2 separate regions of the Homo sapiens genome follow, and region 2 is linked to region 1. Evidence: promoter capture Hi-C in 16 types of primary human blood cells and fetal thymus (Javierre and others, 2016). All regions are on one chromosome and are shown on one strand. Each heading gives the region's core, a stretch centred on a gene start or on the middle of the fragment in contact. The rest is flanking DNA. Distances are from core to core; before and after follow the strand shown. Region 1 holds the start of WDR31 (WD repeat domain 31). Region 2 overlaps RGS3 (regulator of G protein signaling 3).

What was found. The method cuts DNA at HindIII sites, captures the fragments that hold promoters and counts their contacts. A CHiCAGO score of 5 or more calls a contact.
Region 2: a contact is called between a fragment that was not itself captured here and the fragment with the promoter of WDR31 in region 1, in 1 of 17 cell types (erythroblasts). The highest score is 6.0, in erythroblasts.

The regions. Positions count from the first base shown.
Region 1 is chr9:113,338,768-113,342,480 of GRCh38, forward strand. It overlaps WDR31 (WD repeat domain 31), which reads right to left and starts at 1,508. Exons shown (of 11, transcript NM_001012361.4): 1 at 1,450-1,508. RefSeq lists a silencer at 1,278-1,517. The HindIII fragment of the contact is 2,200 bases long and covers 1,271-3,470 here.
Region 2 is chr9:113,552,646-113,556,651 of GRCh38, forward strand. All of the region lies in intron 17 of RGS3 (regulator of G protein signaling 3), which reads left to right. Among named protein-coding and RNA genes, the nearest start is that of RGS3, 91 kb to the left of the region's middle. The HindIII fragment of the contact is 2,685 bases long and covers 1,406-4,006 here.

The sequences.
Region 1 (3,713 bases), core at 258-2,757:
GCCACCACGCCCAGCTAATTTTGTGTTTTTAGTAGAGACAGGATTTCTCCATATTAGTCAGGCTGGTCTCGAACTCCCGATCTCAGTTGATCCGCCCACCTTGGCCTCCCAAAATGCTGGGATTACAGGTGTGAGCCACCGTGCCCGGCCCAGTGGTACACTTTTTAGGGACCCAACAACATAAGCGCCCTTTTAACCTGCCCAACAACATATCCCTTAGAGAGCAGTCACCCTGTTTCATCCCAGGCTCCAGACCCAGAAAGGCTGGAGAGGACATGGGAAAATCTACAGATTCAGTTATGGCTCTGGATGTCCCTGTTGGTTCCAGTTGGAACCAGGCCTCGGTCTGAATCCCATCACTTCTTTCTATTCCAATCTGCTTTCCAAAGGCCTTGGGATATCCAGTAGTCACTCTAAACCACCCTAAACAGAAAGCAGAGAATTCTCTTTTAACTCTCCAGTGCAATATTCCTTGATATACACCAGTACCTATCCGACTGTTCTATTCCATGAAGAAACTGGGACTCAGAGGGCTGTGACTTGCTGAAGGTCACAGGGGCAGAGCCGGGTGGACTGGACCTTATTTCCCTGGTCCCGTTAATGCAAATGCTGATATCTTATCTCCCTCCGTCTCCCCAAATCTCCCTCTGCACACTTCTGTCTTACACTCTGGGAGACCAAGGCATCTTTAGTCGCCAAAACAATGCTCAAAGAAAGAAAAGTATGAGTAGAAACACCTGGAAGCTGGTCTGGTTCGACCCTCTAATGGTACAGATAGGGGAAACCGAGGCCCAGGGAATAAGAGGGTCTTGCCTAGAGTCACACAGGGAGCCAGTTCTAGGCCACCACTCTCACGGTTGCCTCAAATTTTGGGGACGACTTGTGTGCAGTTTTTCCTTTCTGTCGCTTCAGATGGCAAATGCTCCTCTCCCTGCCCATTATATGAACAACTAAAGCTTAATTTGTTTTTGTTTTTGTTTTCAAGAGACGGAGTCTCGAGTCTCGCTCTGTCACCCAGGCTGGAGTGCAGTGGCGCGATCTCGGCTCACTGCAACCTCCGCCTCCCGGGTTCTAGCAGTTCTCCTGCTTCAGCTTCCCAAGTAGCTACAGGCGCACGGCACCACTCCCGGCTAATTTTTTGTATTTTAGTAGAGACAGGGTTTCACTGTGTTGCCCAGGATGGTCTCGAACTCCTGAGCTCAGGCAATCCACCCGCCTCGGCCTCCCACAGTGCTAGGATTCCAGGCGTGAGCCACCGCGCCCGGCCTAAAGCTTATTTTTTATGTGTATGTGGAAAGCGGGGAGAAGAGTCCCCGAAGATGGGAACCTAGCGCCACCCAGCCCAAGGTTGGCCCTCATAACCGCTCTCCGCTTCGACCAAAGGGCGAGGGTTGCCCGCTCCTAGTCTGCCGCTATGCCCCTTTCTCCCACCTCAGGCTCAGTACCCACCGGTGGGCTGCGGGGCTGGAGCTGGGGCCGGCGGGAACGCGGAGCCTGGGGGTGGGAACAGCCTCCGAGCCCTCCCGCGCCTCCGCCCCTAGCAGCAGGCGCACGTTGCTAGGGCGGGAGTGCTGGAGAAAAGCCTCCGGGCACCCTCGCAGGCCGCCGAACCGCAGTTCCGTTCGCCTAAAGCTGGGACGGGAACTGAGCGCCCGGCGCTACTCTCTTCGTGATCAGGTCCAGAGGAGAGGACGCTTGTGCCCAGGACTCCGCTGCCAGAAGAATCTAGACAATCCAAGCAAAACGGGTACCTTTGTAATAGCTATGGAGAAAGCACTTAATAAAGGTCATCTTTTAAATTATTGGTCGCTCAGACATACGTGTTGCCGTATTTCTTTGGAGTTTCCCTGATTTCGACTAGAAATTCCTCCTTTGGACACTCCCCCAGCTCCCCACTCCTCTATTCCTTTCGTTTTTTTTTTTTCATTGAACCATTACAGCCTAGTACCATAGCAAGAAGAGACCCCTCAGTACCTTCTTGAGATCCAAATGGGAAGACAGTTGTAGAAACACAGTTTTTACAGCTGCGGTCGCATTGCTACCAGACTAGAGTCTATTCATCTCCGTATTCCTGGTGCACAGTATGGGGCTTGGTATATAGTAGGGGCTTGTTGAATGTTTGTTGAATGAATCAATGGCAGGGATCCTAGCCAACATTTATTTATTTTTAAGACGGAGTCTTGCTCTGTCGTCCAGGCTGAAGTGCAGTCGCGCGATCTCGGCTCACTGCAACCTCTGCCTCCCAGGTTCAAGCGATTCTCCTGCCTCAGCCTCCCAAGTAGCTGGGACTACAAGTGCGCGCCTCCATGCCCGGCTAATTCTTGTATTTTTAGTAGAGATGGGGTTTCATCATGTTGGCCAGGCTGGTCTCGAACTCCTGATCTCAGGTGATCCACCTGCCACAGCCTCCAAAAGTGCTGGGATTACAGGCATGAGCCTCCGCGCCCGGCCCCAACATTTATTTTGAACCCTAGTAGGTGCCTCTGCAGTGTTGATCTGGCAAAACAGCCTTCAATGAAGATTTGTGGAGTTTCTGAAAATTGGGTGCCTTTGAGGGGGTGGGAATGGTGAGAGAAGTTTGCCTCCACATACTGGCTATTGGGTCTGTTTTCCAGTCCAGGGAAGGGATCCCCTCCATGGCATCCCTGATGAAGTATCTGTAGCCCTAGTTGATGCTCACTCTGTAATGATGGGCTGATTACTTTCTAAGCTAGTGACCTATTGTTGGGAGATTTCCTTCTGGCAGGAGAAAGTATCTACCCGTATGCCACTTGAAACTCTGATCTTCGCTCAGAACCAATGGCTCTCCTTACAGACTTAATCCCTTTCCCCCACAACAGCCTGGCAAGCTACAACCAGGATAGACTCACTGCTTTGTCCTGGGACACTGGGCTAGGCTCAGTGCAGCTACAGAGGTGAGTTACTAGATCTCTGCACCCAAGATGTTCCTGCTCTGGGGATGTTTTTCCCTCTGAGAGAGAGGCTTTAGGCTTCAGGCACGAAAGACTCCCAAACTGGTACCTGTAGCCAGGCCTCTCCCTGAGTCGGACCTGTATATCCACCTGCCACCCGCCCATCTGCAACTGGCAGTTTAAAAGACACCTCATTCTTGACATGACTCATACTGGAAACATCATCTTCCCCTCAAACCTGTTCCCCCTCTTTTCCCTGTAAGTGCTGGGCACTACCATTCACCAATCACCCAAGCCAAGGATCTAGGAGTCATTTGTAACTTTACCCTTGCTTCCTCGTTCAAGAACAATCCCCGAGACTTCTCAATTCTGCCTCCCAAACATTATAAAAATAAAAACCTTCTCTCTACCTACCAGCTGGATTCAGGCCAACATCAGGGTGTGATAGATTAAAAACGACCACAACTTCTTTGTAGCTCTTCCCATCAAGGCTGGCTTTGTAACTTGTTTTGACCAATAGAATGCAGCAGGAGTGACATCGTGGGACTTCTGAGTTTAAGCTTCAAAAGGCCTTGCAGTTTCTGCTCCCATCCTCTTGGCACACTGCCAGCATGGGAAGAGGACCAGGCTAGTCTGTTTCAGAGACATGGCCCATCCAATAGCTAGCACCAAATGCCAGCCATGTGAGTGACTGTTGCCCATGCTGGAGTGCAGTGGTGCGATCTCGGCTCACTGCAACCTCCGCCTCCTTGGTTCAAGCGATTCTCCTGCCTCAGCCTCCTAAGTAGCTGGGATTACAGG
Region 2 (4,006 bases), core at 1,498-3,997, 220 kb after region 1:
CTTCTCCCTGCCCCTCCCAAAAATATCGTTGAGACTTTTATTGTAATTATATTTCAAACTATACATTTAAAAGGGGAGTATTAAAATCTATACAATACGGTCTTCTCATTTGAGAACAGGATGTGTCTCCTCATTTATGCAAATTTTAAGATTTCCCAAAGTTTTAGAAAGAATTTCATATAGGTCTTGCACATTTTTTGTTAAATTTATTTGAGGGAATTTAAAGTTTTAATTTATATTACAAATGAAAATATTTATTTGGCATTATATTTGGTTTTTTAACTGGTAATATACATGCACAAAACTTGTACCAAAAAATTCTAAACATTACTAAACTGAATAAAATAAAACCCCCATTCCCCAAGCCCATTTCCAATCAATAATTACTAATATATGTTTGATGTGGTTCCTCCAAATTTTCCCCCATGCACATATGTAGACATATGCTATGTTTTGTTTTACTAAATAATATCATATTATACATACATTTTTGTAACTCATCTATAAAGATATAGGCCAGGAATGGTGGCTCACACCTGTAATCACAGCACTTTGGGAGGCTGAGGTGGGATGATCACTTGAGTCCAGGAGTTGAAGACAAGCCTAGGCAATATAGTGAGACCCCATCGCTACAAAAAATAAAAAAAATTATCCAGGCATGGTGGCATGTGCCTGGAGTCCCAGCTACTTGGGAAGCTGAGGTGGGAGGATCGCTTGAGCCTGAGAGGCCAAGGCTGCAGTGAGCTGTGATCACACCACTGCACTCCAGCCTGGGCAACAGAGGGAAACTCTGTTTAAAAAAAAAAAAAAAAAAATATATATATATATATATATATATATATATATGTATATATAATATTATATATAAATATATTATAGAAATATATATTATATAATTATAGAAATATTTTCGTGGCTGGGCGCTATGGCTCCCACCTGTAATCCCAGCACTTTGGGAGGCCGAGGTGGGCAGATCACCTGAGGTCAGGAGTTCGAGACCAGCCTGGCCAACATGGCGAAAGCCCATCTCTACTAAAAAATACAAAAATTAGCCAGGTGTGGTGCTGGGTGCCTGTAATCCCAGCTACTGGGGAGCCTGAGGCAGGAGAATCACTTGAACCCTGGAGACGGAGGTTGCAATGAGCCGAGATTGTGCCGTTGCACTCCAGCCTGGGCGACAAGAGAGAAACTCCGTCTCCAAAAAAAAGAAAGAAATATTTTCCATCAGCACCTAAACTTCTCCCTCTATTTTGAATAGCCAGTGGACCATAATGTATTTAATTTATTGATGCATGATTAGATTGTTTCTAATGTTTTGATATTCTGAACAATGTTGCAATAAACATCTTGCCGCACTTTTCTGTTAGGAGAGAGTGTGGCACACACTACCGAAGTGCTCTAAAAAAGCTTTCCTTCTGTTTACACATGTCATCTCCCCAACACTATTGTTCTTATCCTATTTTATAGTTGAGAAACCAAAGGAACAGAGGTTAAGTACATGTACAATTTGCATTCCTACTCACAGTGAATGAGAGTGCCTGCTTCCCTACACCCTGCATAAAATGGAATGTTATTGCTTTTAATTCTTTGTTGGTACAAGAAGTGAAAAATTATATTTAATCTTAATTGACATTTATTTCATTATTAGTGAGGTTGAGATTCATTTTGTTTTATTTTTGGAGATGGAGTCTTGCTCTGTCACAAGGCTGGAGTGCGGTGGCGCCATCTTGGCTCACTGCAACCTCCACCTTCTGAGTTCAAGCTATTCTCCTGCCTCAGCCTCCTGAGTAACTGGGACTACAGGCACACGCCATCATACCCAGCTACATTTTTGTATTTTTAGTAGAGATGGGGTTTCACCATGTTGGCCAGGCTGGTCTTGAACTTCTGACCTCAAGTGATCCACTCACCTCAGCCTCCCAAAGTGCTGGGATTACAGGCGTGAGCCACTGCGTCCAGCCTCATTTTATGTTGATCAGTCACCTATATTTCTGCTTTGGCTTGTCAGTTCATTCATGTCATTTGCCCAGTTTTTTACTGAGGCGTTATCTCATTTGTAAGAGCTCTTTATGTGGTTAGACTATTAACCATTTGCTTATTATATGGGTTATAATTATTTTTCTAGTTTGTCATTTGCCTTCTAACTTTATAGTATCTTTTATCATTTAGAAGTTAACTTTTTTTATAATCAAGTTTTTTTGGGGGGTTGAGAGCACCTATATTTTCTAAGGTCTTTCCTACCCCTAGATTATGAGAAATATTCATCTAAATTTTATTCAGCTACTTTTATTCTTTTATTTTTTGCATTTACATTTTAAATTCATCTGCAATTAATTTAATGCCTGGTGTCAGATGGAACTCTTATTAATTTTTTCCCCCAAATGGTTTGACCAGTTTTTCCAACCCGATTTTTTTGAATTGTCTTTCCTTTCTTCACTTATCATAGACCAAATTTCCACATATGGATGGTTTGGTTTCTAAGCTCTCTCATCTCCCTCTTTGATCTGTCTATTCCTACATCAGGTTAGACTTAATGACTTTAGCTTCAGAATATGGTTTAGTAGTAAACATCCCAAGGCCAACCCCTATTATTCTGCAAAATTTCCTTTGGAGTTATACACCCTAATTCTAGTCTGCTAGTGGCTTTACCCTTACCTTTGTCACAAACATATTTCAACATCAGGAATGACACCAGATCCATAGTAGCCTGTCCTCGTGGCCTCTAACCCATAATGATCATGTCGGCTGGACCATACTTCTCTGCTTTCCTCCATACCTCCTAGGTATTGTTATAATTGTCTGGAATTTCGGTTTCCGGTTGTGACTATTTTTTTTTTTTAAAGACAGAGTCTCGCTCTGTCGCCCAGGCTGGAGTGTAGTGGTGCAATCTCGGCTCCTGCAACCTCCATCTCCCAGGTTCAAGCGATTCTCCTACCTCAGCCTTCTGAGTAGTTGGGATTACAGGCGCCCGCCACCACGCCCAGCTAATTTTTGTATTTTTAGTAGAGACAGAGTTTCACCCTGTTGGTCAGGGTGGTCTCGAACTCCTGACCTCGTGGTCTGCCTGCCTTGGCCTCCCAAAGTGCTGGGATTACAGGCGTGAGCCACCCTGGCCGGTTGTGACTATTTTTAAACATTAGCACTATTCTGTTTTAAGAATTATTTACTTAAAATTGCACTTAACTTTCAGTTATCAGTAGTTAAGGCTCTAAATGTTTCCGTTTTCATGGCTTGCCTCTGTCTCTCACATACCACGTCATCTCATTCTTGACTTCTCGATTTTAATTCACTTTTGTCTGTAGAGCTTTCTTGAGTAATTTTTCCAGAAAGGGTCTGTGGGTGGTATCCTTTCTTATCCTTGTAAGCCTGAAAACATTTGCCCTCATGTTTGAGTCATAGTTTGCTTGAGTAGAAAATTCTAAGTGAATCGTCCTTCTCTCCCAGAAGCCTGAGAGCAGTGTTCTGTGGTTTCCCCAGTATTTAGTGTTTTAAGAGCAGTTTTTCCTTGATTCTCTAAAATTTATTTATGGAAACAACCAGGATTCCTCTTTCCAATCTTTGGAATTCAGAAATTTCCCCAGATGATTTCTAGTTGTTTGTTTTCTTTTGGTAATTTTTCCTGGTCCTAACTAGGTAAGTCCTTTCAGTCTGAAGACCCAAGTCTTCCTTTCGTTCAGGGAAATTTTCTATTAATTTAGGAATGGTTTCTATTCTGTGTGTTCAATCTCCTCTTTCTGGACTTCCTACTACAAATAATAATAATAATAATAATGGTGCCTAACATTAAAGCGTGCTTTCTTTCTGTGATAATATATAATCTTCCCAGCACTATTGTTATTATCCTCATTTCATAGATGAGAAAACAAAGGAAAAGAGAGATTGAGCAGATTATACAAGGTCGCATAATTAGGAGGTGCAGGCCAGGTTCTAATCCCAAGCACCTGGCTCCAGAGCCCGTGTCCTTAGCTGCTAAACTATACTCCCTGCCTGTCGGGTCCCAACCCCA